Regions from separate parts of the Homo sapiens genome. Here all the other regions are linked to region 2. Evidence: promoter capture Hi-C in human tissues and cell types (Jung and others, 2019). All regions are on one chromosome and are shown on one strand. Each heading gives the region's core, a stretch centred on a gene start or on the middle of the fragment in contact. The rest is flanking DNA. Distances are from core to core; before and after follow the strand shown. Region 1 overlaps SLC9A1 (solute carrier family 9 member A1). Region 2 holds the start of MAP3K6 (mitogen-activated protein kinase kinase kinase 6). Region 3 overlaps AHDC1 (AT-hook DNA binding motif containing 1).

Region 1 (3,825 bases), core at 1,171-3,670, 240 kb before region 2:
CAAGCGATTCTCCTGCCTCGGCCTCCTGCGTAGCTGGGACTATAGGCGTATGCCACCACGTCCAGCTAATTTTTGTATTTTTAGTAGATGAGGTTTCACCATGTTGGCCAGGGTGGTCTCGATCTCTTGACCTCGTGATCCGCCCACCTCAGCCTCCCAAAGTGCTGAGATTACAGTCATGAGCCACTGTGCCCAGCCAAGAGTGAAGCTTTTTAAGAGGTAAGACATACTACTGAAAGGCAGGGACTACATCCCCCTCCGCGTCTTTCCACCACACCTGAATCTCCACTCACTGTCCCCTAGCTCTACTGGCCTCCTTGCTTTTCCTTGAGCACAAACATGCCCCCACCTCAGGGCCTTTGCATTTGCTGTTCCCTGTGCCTGAGACACTATTCCCCATGTAGGTGAATGACAGATTCCCTCCCTTCCTTCAGGTCCCTGCTCAGATGCCACCTCCCCAGAGAGGTCCTCCCAACCCTCTCTATCCGCTTACCCTTGCCACTTCCTGACGTCTAGATGTGCTTTCTGACCGTTCCCCACCCAGAACATAAGCCTCGTGAGGGCAGCCTCTGTCCCAATCACTGTTGTATCCCTGGCACCTTAGGCTGTACCTGGCACACAGGAGGTTCACAATCAATGTTTGCTGGATGGATGACTTTCTCTTACCTCAGTGACCTCACAAGGTTGTGAGGATTACATGAGACCACAAACACAAAAGCACTGGGCGAACCACAAGATGTTGTCGGGGGGGTCACCATCAGCTTGTCCCTTGGAGAGCCACTCTTCCAAGGTGCTGCTCAGCAGTTTTTCCTAAATACCCCAGGGAGCAGAACCCAGTCACGCTCAGTTCTGTGGCCTGCAGAGCCTGGGACCACACAGCCCTCTATTAAGAGTCTGATGACACGGCACAGCTGGTTGGTCTGTCTCCCCCTCCAGACCACAAGCAAGTTTCTACCTGCAAGCAAGGCTAGGGACCCTGTCCTATTCATCTTTGACTCTCTAGGCCTCAGCACGGAGCCTGACACATAGTAAGGATAAAGACTTGTTGAGCTAGCAGAACTGTTTGAGGGCAGAAGTCATGTCTGGTTTAACTTTTTTTCCTTCCCTTTTGTGTATATATTTTTGGGTTTAACTTAATCTCCAGTGTTTGGCACTAAGCACATGGACACTAAGCTCCAGCTGAATTGGCCTTTTCCTTGAAGGAAGGGTGAGAGTTAGGCACCAAGAAGGCCTGGCAGGCAAATCAGCAGCATCTGGAAAGACAGGACAGGGAAACGAGTGTGGTACAGGTAGAAGATTTATTTTTTGCGGGGGGAGGGGGCAGGGAAAACAGAGTCTGGCTGTGTTGCCCAGGCTGGAGTGCAGTGGTACGAACATGGCTCACTGCAGCCTTGACTTCCTGGGCTCAAGTGATTCTCTCACCTCAGCCCCCCATGTAACTGGGACTACAGGCGCGTGCCACCATGCCTAGCTAGTTTTTGTATTTTTTGTAGAGATAGGGGTTTTGCCATGTTGCCCAGGCTGGTCTCAAACTCCTGAGCTCAAGAGATCTGCCTGCTTTGCCTCCCAAAGTGCTGAGATTACAGGCGTGAGCCACTGAGCCCAGCCCAGGTAGAGGCTTTCTATTGGAGCAAATGGCAGTGGACTGGAGTGGAAATCATTACTTAGATGCTGTAAAGCAGACTTTTCTCTCGCCCTCACAACATGCCCTGGCAGTGGGCAACAGATGAGAGAACAGACATTGAGAGAGGTCCAGACACAGGCCCAAGATCACATGGGTAGCAGCGGAGGCAGGTCCCAAACCCAGAACTACTGACTCCCAATCCAGCGCTCAGCCAAGGCCAGTTATGAAAGGCCACAAATACCCTGCAGGGAGAGAATTCCCAATCACCCTGCTGAGCCAGGCAGAGCCACTGGAGGGCTCTGGCCTGGGGAACAACATGAAATTCTGCCACTTCAGGGAGGTGGTCAAGGGAGACAGCGCTGGCCACCCAGGCTCAGCACCTGGCATAGGGCAAAGTTGTCCAAATGCACAGCCATTTAGTCTCAGCTCCAGGGACAGCTGGCACTGCCTCCTGCACAATACCAGCAGGATGGGTGAGCACCCCCTCCATCCTACCTCCAAATGCCTCAAAAGACCAGAAAACTACAATTCTGAGAAAAGAAAGGCCTGAGTCAAGCCCAGGCTGGGGATCAGGGGAACTGGGCTTCAGTCTAGACTCAGCCACTAACATTCTGTGGGCTTTGAACAAGCCGTTGCTTCTCTTTGGTCTCAGTCTCTCCATCCTTGGGGGCTTGTTGAGAGCCTCTCTACCTCTGACATCTGACTGATGAACTCTGCAGCTGGACAAAGTCGGGCTCTGTGATACTCACCATCTCTGTCCATGCCAGCAACTGTGGCATCTGGGTACAGAATAGCATTCGTGCCATAGCAAGCTTGCACGAGGCAGCAGCGGGCAGCGTAAAGAGCTCTGGTCCATCAATGAGGGAGGTAGTTTCTGTCCCAATTCTAAATCTTAACTTCTCTGTGACCTAATAAGGCAAATCACGGTACTGCCCTGAACCTCAGTTTCTTCCTTTCTAACATTGGGATAAAGAATGTCTATGGCACAGCGTTGCTGTAAGAGGAGAGAACAGAGACAGAAACACTCAGAAAAAAGCAAAAACAAAAATATATGCCCAGGCCAGGGGAGGTGGCTCACACCTGAATCCCAGCAGCGGGGGAGGCCGAGGCGAGAGGATCACTTGAGCCCAGGAGTTTGAGAGCAGCCTGGGTAACGTGGCAAAACCCATCTCTACAAAAAATTTAAAAATTAGTTGGGCATGGCTGGTGCATACCTGTAGTCCCAGCTACTAGGGAGGCTGAGGTGGGAGGATCACCTGAGCCCGGGAGGTTGAGGTTTCAGTGAGCCGAGATCATGCCAACTGCACTCTATCCTGGGCAACAGGGTGAGACCCTGTCTTTAAAAAAAAAAAAAAAAAAGGCCAGGCGTGGTGGCTCATGCCTATAATCCCAGCACTTTGAGACGCCAAGGCGGGCGGATCACCTGAGGTCAGGAGTTTGAGACCAGCCTGGCCAACATGGTGAAACCCCATCTCTATTAAAAATACAAAATTAGCCGGGCGTAGTGGTGCATGCCTGTAATCCCAGCTACTTGGGAGGCTGAGGCAGGAGAATCACTTGAACCCAGGAGGTGGAGGTTGCAGTGAGCCGAGATCCTCACGCCATTGCACTCCAGCCTGGGCAAAAAGAGGGAAACTCCATAAACAAACAAACAAACAAACAAACAAATGCATGCACGCACGCACGCATGCCAGACACTCCCGTGCAGATCTAGATTCCCAGAAACCAGCAGCGGCAGGGTCCCAGAGGCAAGCTGGCAGCACTAGGGAGGCAAGAGCTTCTCCTAAACAGGCACCTGAGGGGGAAGCTGTCCAACTGCACAGCATTAAGGCTCCATGGGCAGCAGGCACTGCCTCCTGCACAATACCAGCAAGATGGGTGAGCTTTCCTGATACTGGATCCTCTATCTCAAGGGGGTCCCCTAAGGGTCTCCCATACACTTCTGATAACGATCCAGCTGGCTGGGCTCTGTGTGGTGGGAGAGACAGGGCATGCTTGGAGGGCCTCTCCCTGCCTCCTCTCCCACCACACTGGGGATAGTTTGTCACTTCAGGCCTCTAGGAGCCACGAGATGTAGAGTGGATAGGAGAACTGAGCATGCTCAGAGGAGGCTGCCCTTTAGAGGACACTGCAGAGAAAAGATGAGGACACGGCCAGCTGCAGGGCTTGGTCCTGGTGCCAGGAAGGCCCAGGGCTCTAGA
Region 2 (3,512 bases), core at 521-3,020:
GTTGAGTCTGTTACGGGCCATTTAGGAGGTGGGAGTTGCGCAAACATAGAAGTCCCCTCCCTTTGGTCTTCAGCACAGGCTCTTGAAAGGGGCTACCATCAGTGTGCATAGACAACGCTGTGCCTAAATGTATGTATGTGTATATCTGTGACATGTATAGCTTACTATGTCTGACTGTATCTGTGTGTGTGACAGCGTCTGCTAGGGCCTGCATGAGTCAACATGTATGCGATTTGTGTCTGTCGATAATTGTATCTTTGTGTCCGAGTGGTCGGGTCAGCCTTCATTTTAGGCTACGATTTCATGGACATCCAGGAAGCACAGCTACTGGACTCTAGCATAAGCAAGTAAGTATGGGGGCCGAGCATCCGGGCTGGCTGGAGGGAGGAGTGACTCGCGGGGGAATAGCCTCCTTCTGGCCCCGCCCCTGAGCCATCCTTTCCCGCCCACTTCCCCGCCCCTTCCCCGCCCATTCTTTCTGGGCCGCTGAGGCCACTTAACCTAAGCTCCCTCACCCAGTATCCAGTCCCGTCGGGCCCCTTCGCTTCTCTTTTTGCCTCTCCTAGCCCGATCCTTGGAAATAGTATGCTAGGACTCCTGAACTCCAGCCTCCCGGCCCCTTTCCCTAAGTCCAAGCTCCTCTCCCAGTAATTGTCCTCAAGAGATCCGCGTGACATTCTCCTGAGGGTGAGGCTGAGTTCTCCAACCCCACCCCTGAGACACCACAGCCCCGCGCCGCTCCCCGCCCCGCCCCAGAGTTCCAAAGCCCCTCCCCATCCTTGCCCCGCTGGCTGGGCACCGCTCCGACTGAAGGGTGCCTAAGCCCCAACCTCGAGCCCTAGAGCCGCGCCCGGATCCCTGTCTCGTCCCGAGCCCGGCCGCGCCCCAGATCCCCTAAATCCCACTTTTTTCACGGCCCTGTCCCAAGCCCTTCAGCTTTAGCTCACTTTAAGTCCCCTAGACCCGGTACCCCTCTCGGCCCCTCCCTTGAGCCTTCGAGCCCGGCTTGGTCCCCTCCCAGGACCCTGAGTCCCGCCCGGATCCGGCCCCGCCCCCAGCGCTCTCACCCGCGTTGTAGAAGGCATCCAGAGCCGCGGTGTCGCCTAGCTCCAGCGTCCCGAAGGGCAGGCTGCGCAGCTGCGGGGGCGGCCGCGGCCGGGGGACCTGCGCGCAAGCCTCGCGCAGGCAGCGCAGGGGCAGCGGCTCCGCCTCGGTTCCCTCCCGAGGCTCGAGCCCGGGCTGCGGCTCCCGGGTCAGCACGTAGACCACGCTGAGCGGCCGGCTCCGCGCGCAGCCCCGGCCCGGGGGCGCCGCGAGCTGCCGGCCCCGGCTCAGCGCCACGGCCAGCGGGTCCTGCCAGCAGCTGCCGGCGCGCTCCGCCCCGGACCGGGGACACGGCCCCGCCATGCGGGGGCGCTCAGGCGCGGGGCGCCGCGCACTGGGAACCGGGGGCGGGGCAGGAGCCTGGGCCGGCAGATCAGGAATCTTGGGATCTGGAATCCGTTCGGAATCGGAGAATCTCCCACGGGATCTAGGGATCCGGAATACGGCCTGACGTCCCGTTCCAGGAATCTAAAGTCCAGGGAGAAATCCTAGCTCGGACTTGCAAGGTCCTGAGGTTCTGAAATCCGGGATTGGGTCCCAGGAATCTGGGGCATCCGGTGATCGGCAGCTCAGAGCCACTTGGGGGATCCTGGGAATCGGCTCGGAGGTGCCCGCCACCTGGACTTCTCAAGGGAGCGCCCGCCAACGCTGCCCTGCCTTCACTTGTAGGCTAAGCCCAGCCCTTTCCCGGCCGACCCAGAAAGCTCCACCCTCGGCCCTGGGGCAGAGCCGCTCCCTAGCGGCTTGAGACTCAGCCTCTCCCCTCCCTTCTCTCCCGCCAGAACTTTGGAGACTGGCGGCTTCCGGAACAGCCTGTGCCCCTGTGCACGCCAAAGACTGTGGACTGCTCACAGCAAGTGCACATAAAATGTGTGAGGAGGCCAGGGCTAGGGAAAAGGTTCGATATGCAGGCCCTGCTCTGCAGGTATCTGTTGAATGAATGGCTCTCTAGAGACATCAGGGTGCGCAGAGCATGATGAACAATGGGTGTCCTCCCGGGCCCAGTGAGCGCAGGCAGGGAGGGACTGGGATGGGGGAAACCTACACCCTAGGCCGCTTGCCCGAAAGCCTTCAGTCCTGGAGTGGGACTTGGCATCTGAGCCTTAACTGTCACTAGGGGGCTGCTTTCCCCAGGACCCAACCTGCTGTGGACCCCCGCTGACCTTTGACTTCTAGGCAGAACGTGGCCATGGGACCTGAGAAGCACTTCCTACTCTAAACAACTCTAAACATTTCTTTAGCCACCCCTTGAAGGAGTCAACCCCAGCCCTTTGCACTACAGCAGCTTCTCAGCTTCAAATCCCCAAGAGTCCCCAACTTTCTTGTGTGAATTAATGAGTGAGGCAGCAACCTGGTAGAAGCCTCAGTGGACCCTGAAACCAAGAACTGGGGACTTAAGTTGAATAACTTGTCCAGGATCACTCAGCACATGACAGCAGGGTGCAAACCCAGGACCGCCTGTCAGACTCTTAACTATTTAATTCTGCCACTTACTAGAATGTGGCTTTGGGCAAATAAACTGCTTAAATGCTACTCAATGGCTGTTTCATTGCCCTGTTGCCTTGTGGAAGAAAAAGGTACCTTCCTTGGTTTGACCTTGGATTCGAACTGACACCCAATGAGATAGGCAGGAAGTGGTAGAGTTTGAGAACTTGGCCTGCAACAGAGGCTGGAGTGGAAAACAGACAACTTACAAAGGACAGGCATGGGCAACCGACAGGCTGAGAAAGCTGTGCAATTCCCAGCCAGGGCGGTGGCTCATGCCTGTAATCCCACTTTGGGAGGCCAAGATGAGTGGATCACGAGGTCAGGAGTTCGAGACCAGCCTGGCCAACATGGTGAAACCCCGTCTCTACTAAAAATACAAAAAAAAGTAGCTGGGTGTGGTGGCACCTGCCTGTGATCCCAGCTACTTGGGAGCTGAGGCAGGAGAATCACTTGAACCTGGGAGATGGAGGTTGCGGTGAGTGGAGATCGTGCCATTGCACTCCAGCCTGGGCGGGGCGACAGAGCAAGACTCCATCTCAAAAAAAAAAAAAGCTATGCAATTGTGCAATTCCTGCCACAAAGCCATCCACTTGCAGGACCCAGAGGGCCTCGGGAAATTGTCAATGGATGCTTGGATCTCCTCTAATCCTTCCACTGTATGCCCCTCTGGCTCATTGCACTCCAGCCTGGGCAGGGCGACAGAGCAAGACTCCATCTCAAAAAAAAAAAAAAAAAAAAAGCGGCCGGGCGCAGTGGCTCACACCTGTAATCCCAGCACTTTGGGAGGCCGAGGAGGGCAGATCATGAGGTCAGGAGATTGAGACCATCCTGGCTAACATGATGAAACCCCGTCTCTACTAAAAATACAAAAAATTCGCCGGGCGTGGTAACGGGTGCCTGTAGTTCCAGCTACTCGGGAG
Region 3 (3,714 bases), core at 1,085-3,584, 220 kb after region 2:
CAGCTTCAACCTCCTGGGCCCAAGCAATCCTCCCACCTCAGCCTCCCAAGTAGCTGGGACCATAGGCATGTGCCATCACACCTGGCTACTTAATTTTTTATGTTGCCCAGGCTCAAAACTTTAAAAAAATATATTTTTAAAAAAAATTTTTCTGGAGAGAAAGCCCCTAGGTCTCATCATCTTCTCAAAATGGGTCCTTAGCCAAAATGGTAACCAAGAGAAAAAAAAAAAAAGGCAGGCACGCCTTTAGTTCAATCCAAATGGGAAAATAGAGGTGTGTAATAAAGAAGGGACCCTCAGAAAATCTGGGCAGATCCAAGGCCAGAACCCAGGGGTATCCTCTCCCAGGCCCTACTCCTTCCTCCAGTCCAAGTGGTCTCTCTGATCTGACCTCATCATGTCTCACCTACTTGGCCATGACAGCTTCCTGGTGGGCTCCCCCACCTCCAGTCACCTCCTCTGAATCTCTTCCACCTCGAGCTAGCTACATCTTCCTCAAATCCCATTCTCATGACTCTGCGTGTCTGCCCTGAAACCTTTAACAGCTCCCTACTGCTGACGACAACATCAAGGCCAAGGTCTTTAGCCTGACATTCAGGGGCCTTCAGAGCCAGCTTTGGCCCCACCAACCTCCTGGCTGTTCTCTCTCATCTGGTCAGCGGGGCTGACTTCTTCCTCTCCTCTCTTCCCCTCCCCTGAGTCTCAACACCACCCACACACTCACTCCGTTCTGGACAGATTCTGCCCCTTTGCTCAATCACACAGTGTCTCAGGCCTCCCCTGCTATGCCCTTGGGATTGCCTCTGGGTCCAGCCAACCTCTGAACTCACCCTGATTCCGCCAGACCAGCAGAAGCTGGCCAGGCTTGGCTCCAGGAAACAGGCCTCTGCCCCTGCTCTCCAGCGCAGCTCCATCCCTGGACATTGACCCACCTCGGCACTGCCCACACCCCTCCAATTCCCATCATCTCTTTTCATCTATCCTCTAGACTTTCAGGAACAGAACAGCGAATCCCACAGGGAGTTAGCAGGTATAGCACTGTCCTCAAAGTCATGACTCTTGACTCAGTCAGATTGTTGTCTTCAAGCCACACTGTCCTTATCTATAAAATTGGGATGGCAATACCTGTATCTCACTTGATTCTCACAAGGAATAACTGCCTTGTAAACTGGAAGGTGCTTTTTCTACTAAAACCTGCTATACAAATAAGAGTAACAACAGCCTCCATCTGTACATTGATTTAAAACTGCAGTAACCCTGTAATGTGGGCATGCCCAATGCCCCTTCTCTGATTCATTTTCCTCCTTGGTACATATCACCATCTAACGACCATTTATTTCACTTGTTTTTACATTAACTGTCTGTTTTACCCTCTAAATGTAAGCTCCTTGAGGGCAGGGATTTGTGTCTGTTTTGTTCACTGCTGTGTGTCCTAGAAAAGTGCCTGACATCAAGTGTGCACTTGATGGTTAAGGAATGAATGCATGAGTCAAGTGCTTACTGCATGGCAGGCACTGTGCTAAGCACTCCTCACAGAGCATCTCATCGGAGGGGTCAGGTACTTTGATGACCCTGTGTTTTGGAGATGCGATGTTCAGTTGACTTGCCCTGTTCACATGGTGGGACACAACTTAGCTAGGATTGGACTGCAGAGCCTGCCTTCTTGATCACTATACTGTAGTTTCTGTCCAGATGGGGGTTTATTTCTATTTCTCTTTTTTTTGAGACGGAGTCTTCCTCTGTCACCCAGGCTGCAGTGCAATAGCGCACTCTCGGCTCACTGCAACCTCCGCCTCCTGGGTTCAAGTGACTGACGAGTAGCTGGGATTACAGGTGCCTGCCACCACATGGGGTTTCACCATGTTGGCCAGGCTGGTTTCGAACTCCTGACCTCAGGTAATCCGCCCACCTCAACCTCCCAAAGTGCTGGGATTACAGGCGTGAGCCACCATGCCTGGCCGTTTATTTCTATTTCTACATTAGCTAAGCCTCTCGAATCTGTCACCCTCCCTATGTCCTTGAGGCCACCAGCCCTCCCAATCCTCATCCTGATCTCACTCAGCAATTTCCTCCCACTTCTGAGCCCTAAGCCGCGTTCATTCTCACCTCAGGGCCTTTGCTGGTGCCCGGCACCCTGCCTGGCATGCTCTGGCTCCCCCATCTCTTTCAACTACCCATTTCTCAAGATTCACCTCTTCTGGGAAGCCCTCCCTCCAGACTTCACTTGTTCCCTTCCCTGAGCTCATGTCTTGTTGTTTATTGCTGAGAAAACCCACTCGGGGAGTGTATGTTGATTTGGTTCATTCTCTAATTGTTTCCTGAAGTTGAAGGCCTTGCCCACCTCTGTCCTTCCTTTCTATTCCCCCTGTCCCTCTCCTGGCCAGGTCTCTCCCTCCTTCCTCTGCTGGATCAATGCCCTCACCCCTAACCCGTCTCTTAATCAGGTTTAAAGCTTTGTGACTAATAGTGTGGCTTTTGAGTCTCTCACACTGCAGCTCCACCCTCTCCCTATTAGCTGTGTTTCCTTGGGCATGTCACTGTACCTCTTTGAACCCGATTCCTATCTGTGAAATAAGGATAATATGAGCCCCTGCTTCATGAGCAAATGTGCCTGGCACATAGTAACCACTAAGTATCAGCTCTTTATTATTTCTATAGCATCTTATCATTTCACTTATCTCCATTCTGAAGGCTTCAGCCTCCTCTCTGCCTCCTTCCCAAGCAGTTGTCCCCTCTTTCCAGATTATGGTGGTAACAATAAGATTGCTAACATGACCCCTTATGATCTGCAGTGACTGGAAACATGTCTGGCACCCAGCAGGTGCTTCATATTAGTTGTTGAATAAATTAATTAGCTAATTTAATCCTCACAACACCCTATGGAGGAGAGGAGAACTAGTATTATACTCATTTTACAGACAAGGAAATCAAGGCCCAGAGAGGGAAAGCAGCTCCCAGGGGCTGGGATTTAAACCCAAGCCGTCTGACTCCAAAGTCGGGACGCTCACTGCCCATTCCATCCTCACCATTCCCATCCTTATCTGCTCTGATGCCAACCCCAGGGAGGGACCCTTTCTTTCTCCAGGTATTGGATCTTAGCATCTAGATGGATGCTCACTGAGCCCCTGCTCCAAAGCTAAACCTTCATGTTTTATCTCATTTGAGCCTCACAAAACCCTATAGCATCAATGCCATTATTATTTCCCCTCAACAGGTGAGGAAACTGAGGCTCAGAGAGGAGTCAAGTAACTAAGGACACACAGGATTCAAAGCCCAAATTCTTTAAATGACATGATTTTTTTGCAATGTTTTTCTCTTATTGTTTTATCCCACTGTTGAGAATTGACCACACCTATCAGCCTTGTTTTTCCAGTTAGTTGGGCAGCAAGCTCTCTGAGGCCAACCCTTCCACCTCTCCCATTGGTGGCCAGCACTGTAGCGGGGTGAGCTGTGCTCTATAGAGGCTTCTGAACCACTGATCTGCACACTCCTAGCGAGGCACAGCCTGACACTCTGCCTGTTTCCCCCACAGCACTCTGCCTTATCACCCCATCAAACTTAGTGTTGGGAAGGGCAGGGCTAGGTCTCCCCTTCGGCCTAGACTAGAGGCTCCCCAGAGATGCCTTATCCCCCAGGAATTCAGGGCTCCCATCTCCTACTTAGGGCATCAAGGGGGCAGGACAGGACAGGCGTGGTGGCTCACACCTGTAATCT

Evidence for each region. The method cuts DNA at HindIII sites, captures the fragments that hold promoters and counts their contacts. A contact is called where the count stands out against the background at its distance.
Region 1: a contact is called between a fragment that was not itself captured here and the fragment with the promoter of MAP3K6 in region 2, in 6 of the 25 tissues and cell types used here (H1 embryonic stem cells, dorsolateral prefrontal cortex, heart right ventricle and 3 more).
Region 3: a fragment that was not itself captured here is called in contact with the fragment with the promoter of MAP3K6 in region 2 in 2 of the 25 tissues and cell types used here (mesenchymal stem cells and pancreas).

The regions. Positions count from the first base shown.
Region 1 is chr1:27,125,693-27,129,517 of GRCh38, forward strand. All of the region lies in intron 1 of SLC9A1 (solute carrier family 9 member A1), which reads right to left. Among named protein-coding and RNA genes, the nearest start is that of SLC9A1, 28 kb to the right of the region's middle. The HindIII fragment of the contact is 6,234 bases long and covers 1-3,825 here.
Region 2 is chr1:27,365,191-27,368,702 of GRCh38, forward strand. MAP3K6 (mitogen-activated protein kinase kinase kinase 6) reads right to left here and starts at 1,771. Exons shown (of 29, transcript NM_004672.5): 1 at 1,068-1,771. The coding sequence starts at 1,407. RefSeq lists silencers at 360-429, 1,020-1,069, 1,140-1,359, 1,390-1,499 and enhancers at 752-1,695, 1,696-2,637. The HindIII fragment of the contact is 34,431 bases long and covers 1-3,512 here.
Region 3 is chr1:27,581,208-27,584,921 of GRCh38, forward strand. All of the region lies in intron 3 of AHDC1 (AT-hook DNA binding motif containing 1), which reads right to left. Among named protein-coding and RNA genes, the nearest start is that of AHDC1, 21 kb to the right of the region's middle. RefSeq lists an enhancer at 238-767. The HindIII fragment of the contact is 4,137 bases long and covers 267-3,714 here.